Regions from separate parts of the Homo sapiens genome. Here region 2 is linked to region 1. The links are contacts of gene promoters, found by promoter capture Hi-C in human tissues and cell types (Jung and others, 2019). All regions are on one chromosome and are shown on one strand. Each heading gives the region's core, a stretch centred on a gene start or on the middle of the fragment in contact. The rest is flanking DNA. Distances are from core to core; before and after follow the strand shown.

What was found. Contacts are between HindIII fragments. The study calls those that stand out against the background at their distance.
Region 2: a contact is called between a fragment that was not itself captured here and the fragment with the promoter of PACRG in region 1, in 1 of the 25 tissues and cell types used here (heart left ventricle).

What each region holds. Positions count from the first base shown.
Region 1 is chr6:162,726,485-162,729,451 of GRCh38, forward strand. PACRG (parkin coregulated) reads left to right here and starts at 1,490. Exons shown (of 5, transcript NM_001080379.2): 1 at 1,490-1,907. The coding sequence starts at 1,752. It overlaps PRKN (parkin RBR E3 ubiquitin protein ligase), which reads right to left and starts at 1,282. Exons shown (of 12, transcript NM_004562.3): 1 at 1,178-1,282. The coding sequence starts at 1,184. RefSeq lists silencers at 860-1,399, 889-1,110. The HindIII fragment of the contact is 3,880 bases long and covers 1-2,017 here.
Region 2 is chr6:162,195,031-162,197,997 of GRCh38, forward strand. The region is part of intron 4 of PRKN (parkin RBR E3 ubiquitin protein ligase); the gene reads right to left. Among named protein-coding and RNA genes, the nearest start is that of LNCR-SMAL, 38 kb to the right of the region's middle. The HindIII fragment of the contact is 3,906 bases long and covers 1-2,967 here.

The DNA.
Region 1 (2,967 bases), core at 240-2,739:
ATGCTAGAAAGGGAAGAAAAGTTGGACAACATTCTTGTTTTACCACAAAGACCATGCCAGTTAGCTGGCTTGATTCTCCCACTGATGGGGAGAATGTTTACATTTTAACAATAACTTCACAAATAAACAGATGTAAGAAGTGTTTTCAGTGCATAAAGATCATATACTTTATAAATCCACCTCTCATCTTTCTTCTGGACAGACCACATCTGACTTCGAACGTACTTACTGCAATCAAAAGTGTTTTGTAAAGGACCCTCCTCAGGAATAAACAAGCTCACTAAACCCTCCATACATAACCTGGAGAAACCTCCACAATAATGAAACCCCATCTAGCACTGTTTTTCAAACATATGGTGCATTTCCATTAATTTTCAGGGATAGCCCCTAAAGTAACTTTTGGCTCAACAACCCTGGAAGAGAGGACCTTTGCTCATCTTACACATCAAGTGTTCATGAACAACTCTGATGCCACTAAGTTTCGTTCACAAACTTGCACCTCGGTCGTTCTTTTACAAAAAAAAAAAAGAAAGGTTATTTTGCAAAAGGCAATAGATTTAATCTTGGCTACTATTTACTCTTAATGTTTCTTTCATCTCAGCCCTCCAATGAGAAGTTTAAAAGGAAACATCCGAGGGAGCAAGTTTAGATCTATCTGGAGGAGTTTCTGTGGAGCCAGCCACCCTCACCAGGTGCCTTCCATTAGAGTTTAATGCTTTGCTGCGGTTTCCTGAAAGAGCCCCACAGAGAGTGGGTCTCGATGGGTCCTGAACCGCACCACAACCGGCCAGTGAGGTGAGGGGCGAAGGTGAGGGGCGGCGGCGGGGCGAAGGTGAGGGGCGGCGGCGGGGAGAAGGCTTCGGGACCCCACACGGTCCGGGGGACCGCGAACGAGGAGCGGGGGTGCGGGGCCGCCTGGCGTCCCCGTCGAGGCGGTCTTCATGAGAACGCTCAGAGCAGGGGCGGGCAGGCGAGGGCTTCGAACGCACACACTGGGGCCCCGGACCCGCGTCGCTGAGCTGGGGAGCCCGGCGGCGCGGGCCGGGGACGGCACGGGCACTTTGGCCCCGTCATTGACAGTTGGCACCGGGGGTCCTGGTCGGCCGAGGCGGGGCGTGGCGCCATACCGGGGCGTGGGGCGGCGCAGAGAGGCTGTACCTGGCAGGTACCCACGTACCTATCATGGTCACTGGGTAGGTGGCGGCTGCGGGCCAGGAACAGGCCCATGCGCGCAGCGGCGCCAGCCGCGCCTCCCACCAGCGGCTCTCCTGGGTTAAATCCTCCAGGCCTCCCCGCCCCCGCGCCCGGCCCTAGGAATGCGCACGCGCGGAGGGCGCGGCCCAGGGCCTGCTGGGAGTCGTAGTTCTAACGCGTAGTTTCTCCTCACGCCTCCTGCCCCCAGCCCCCCACCGCCGCCCTTTCCGGCTTCAGGCCCAGCAATCTTACGTCACCGGGGGGCGGGGCTATGCGCCCGCCGTGTTGACCAGTCGCTTAGCAACCGGGAGGCTTACCTTTGGAAGCTTGTTGCAGCTCTAGCCAAGGTCCTGCCCTCTTCCCGCCCCGCCCCTAGGGTCCAGCTCCCTTCACCTAGGAGCTGCCAAACATCTGGATCAACCTGGGCACTACGAGGGGTTGAATTTCTACCATTATCGCGCCTTTTGATATTTTTTTCCAGACCTCCTGCTCACATCCGTAAAGCCCACTGATTCTTTTACTACACTTTTTATGAGAACAAGACATTTTCTAGGAAGATGGTGGCAGAAAAAGAGACCCTGAGCTTAAACAAATGCCCAGACAAGATGCCGAAGAGGACCAAGCTGCTGGCACAACAGCCGCTCCCGGTGCACCAGCCTCACTCTCTGGTTTCTGAGGGTTTCACAGTCAAAGCCATGATGAAAAACTCAGTCGTAAGTGATCTTCCTGAATTAAATGCACTCGCTCTGAATCAGGGGACACGAGATTTACAGAGGTTGGCCAGCCTTAGGATGGACTCTGAGCCATGTCCTGGGTGGTCTTTGCCAAAAAAGGCAGTTACTTGGCAAGTAGCAAACGGTGCCCCACAGTGTGTGGGGGGCAGGCTAGGTTGTTAGAATCTTGGGCAAGTGATGTACTCTGCCCATTTATAAGCACCTTCCTGATAACTTATGGTTTCTGGACCGCCCAAAATTACTCTTAAGCTATTTACACGAGGAAAAAAGATCCCCTTTACTTACTAATTCCTAACTAGCCCCACTCAGCAAAGGGCCTTATAGAAGGTGAGTTCTTAGAAATCATAAACTCTTGCAAAATTTAACATGAGCTGATATACAACCGGGAACATAAACTCATGAAATAATCTATAATGAGAAATTTCTTCACTTCAACCTAGGAAATTTTAGAATATCCTAGCATTTGCTCTAACAACACTTGTCTCTTACAAAATGATGTCATCTTCTTAGAGTACTGAAAGCCAACTTAATATGAACACTGTTTCCTGACAGGCCTTTTAAGATGATGTGCTTTAAACAATACAAGCTTTAGCTCATATATCTCTGCTACTAATACAATTCATATTTCATCTCTATTATTTGTAGTAATAAAAATAAAATATTCTAAGTATCATTAGAGAAAAAAGATTAAAAATATATACAAATATTTTAGCTGTCTGCATGATAGTATATATTTTTTAAACCTTCCTATTTGTTAAATAGCTTTACACTTGGTATGCTAAGACAGATTTTGCTACTGAGTAAGCAACTGTCTGGGAATGAGGCATTAAATAATAAATGCATCTTTCAAATTTGTGTAATTTACACCCTGGGAAGATCTGAGTTATTACATGGCAATTCATTATGTTAAATGAATAGTGTTGTTTTCCAGTGTCACATTATTTCCTTTGCTTATAGGTTGCAAACCTGATAACTTATTCCTAAACGACATACTTAAAATACATGAATGAAACAGATTACCTATAGACCTCTAGGCCAG
Region 2 (2,967 bases), core at 156-2,655, 530 kb before region 1:
GATGCCAGACATGCATTGTGTTCTGCACACTTTCCACCCTGGAGCTTATGAATCCACACAGAAACCAGCTTCGCTGTAGATTTAACACTGTAACGCGATGCAAAACAGAATGCATGGTGGCCGGTTCCACTCTCACTGTCGGGACATCCAAAACATGCCCTACAAATACTGTCAATAACATAAAATAATGCGTAATGCCTCCTCCACTGTGCTTTCAAAGCACTGAAACGCCTGATAACCAAATCTACAATAAGCAAAGAGGGGATATCACACACTTAGGCAAAAACACCCCATGTGAAAACTAGAAAGTAAGCTTAGGTCTATTCTAAGACTTGAATTTCTTACATAAATGTGAGAGTAATTTTGATAACAAGAGAGGTAAGAAGACTCCTGGCCAACAATTAATCTGTAACAAATATTAAGCTTAGGAATGATTTTACATTTAGACTGTATTTCTTAATAAATTTCCTCACATAAATTGTGCCTAATCTATAAACTAATTTTAAACAAAATCCATCATGCCAGGCACTTTACATCTTACTCTATTTATTGCACCATTTCTCATCAGAAACCTTTTAGCTTTAATGCTATTCCATGGCAGAGTATCTCATTAGAGTGGCAAAGATAAAGTTCTTTTTGAGATAAAGTAATTACGGTGATTGTAGCGGGGAGGGGGTCACCCAAAGTTCTTGGCTACAGTAATCTCCTGGCTTCTGATTCATTTTAAGACCAATAAACTGAGTACAAACAAAAAGATGTTAATGGTGGATAACTCTGGTTACCTAGAGTTTGTCCTGGAGGGATTAGCAATTCATAACCTTAATCAGAACTAGAGTCCTGGAGAATTTTGCTCCCAGGAAAATATTTCAAGACCAGATGCTGTATGTGCTCTCAGCTCACTTCTATGTCAATTCTATCTTCTAATTATTATTAAAGTCAATCAAGTATTTCACTCTATAAAAAGCCTTACTATATTTTAAGCCAATTTTCTGTTCCAAAGACTAGTCAGTTACTTCCTATCCCAGGGGCTTTGCTTTCTTGAGGAGGCACAAGTCAGTTGAAATATGGGCTATGGCCAAGACAATGATAGTAGCAAGGGACAGGACTCCTCAGCCATGATCAGAAAGAGTACTGTTAGGATTTAGTGAGAAGCCTTCAGGGGAAGGAGGAGGCTTGGTTTTCAAATCATGCCAAGGGACAGACTTACCATTGCCATGGAGTCAAATTAACCTTACCAGCCCAGTCAAAATAATTAAAAATTAATACAGTCTCTGATAAAGTTTGTTGATATAAATTGGTGCTAGGGAAATATTTCAAGGAAACAATGACATGAGTTATTTTAAATTATTAATTTCATTGGTCAGGAACCCAATCAGAATTAAATATGCACATATAAAACAACCTCCCTTGTGTGTTCAACTCTGTCTCATTTCTGCATGGACCTCAGTGGATGACTTTTGAAGAAGCAGATGAAAAGTGAATGCTTGCCAATTAGCTATTGTTCACCGTTTTCCAGTAAGCATTCATATTTCTAAAGGATTATAGTCTAGTCCAAACTCTGATCAAGGTCACCATGCAAGAAAGAGGATATTCTGATATGGAGATGAAGAAAATTTGAGTCCGGGTTGGTTCTCAACTTACCTATGAGGTCAGGTGAAAACTTCAGACATCAGTTCCCCATGCCTAACATCAGGACAAAATTAACTATCCATTTCCTTTACAATTTGTTAGAGTATCATATTAAATGTGAAACATGATTAAACTGGAGCATCACATTTGAAAAGCAACTCATTATTATTACATGTAAATTTTAAATAGCATTCAGGAAATGTTAGAATTAAGAACAAATCACCAATAAAAACTTTAGAAGATTACCATTTAGACTCATGATATGAGTGGATCTCGTTGCAAACTGATTTTTCCAAATGAGAAAAAATACAATTATACTTTCAAAAATAACCCAGGTGGCTAACCAGGTTCCAGTTTTCCTCCTTAGGTATAAAAATCTTGCTGAAGTTCACATAAACCACATGCTGCTCACCTATAACTAGTCAGCCACACAAGATCCTATATTGTATTTTTGTTCTTGATCAGAGACAATTATGTAAGTTATCGATCCTTATAAAGTTCTAGAAAATGAAACCTCAGAATTGCCTATTATTCACACAGCAATCTTTACACTTGGCAAAGTTTAGCACCTACTCCATTATTGCAAAGCCTAAATTTGCTGGTGAATCAGTAGTGTGACTGGTCGGCTGATCCACAGAAATATTATTTGTAGGTGTTACTGAATGTGTATTTTTGTTATTGAAAAATTGAAACATCTGATCTTCTCCTATGGACTAGCTACACTAGATCTAGTTACTGTACTAAAATATGGATTATATAAGTTATCTTTGATTTAATTGTCCCTAAATCCATAAGCATATTTTTTTCAAGAGTATGTTTCAGTTATATTTTAAGTACAAGGGAAGTAGTTAGAAAATAGAACACTGATTACTAGATTTGTATAGTGAGGACTATATCCTAGTAAAGGCCAGGGCTATGGAAAAATACAAAGCAGATTTTTCACTCCTGGCTTCGATATTTATGAACTGTGTAACTTTGGGCTCATTACTTAACCTCATGGAGTCTCTTTGTAAAAACACTGGATGAGAATTGGAGAAAAATAGAAATACAAGAATATAAGGATAAGGAAGGAAATCAGTACACTGTAGTGAAGCCATCATAATTGCTATGCTTCATTTCATTATATGATGCCAGACAGAATTTCTAAAGGGTATGAATTCATGGAGTCAACATAGAAAATTTCGAATACAAATGCTATTTATTCAGCATTACTTGATTCGTGTCTTTCTATGGACAAGGCACTTTGTGAGGTGTTAAACATAAACTAGAGACCCAAGCTGAAAGTTATCTGATCTTATAACAAGGCTTACAGGCTCTTCGAACATAGACAAGTAAGGA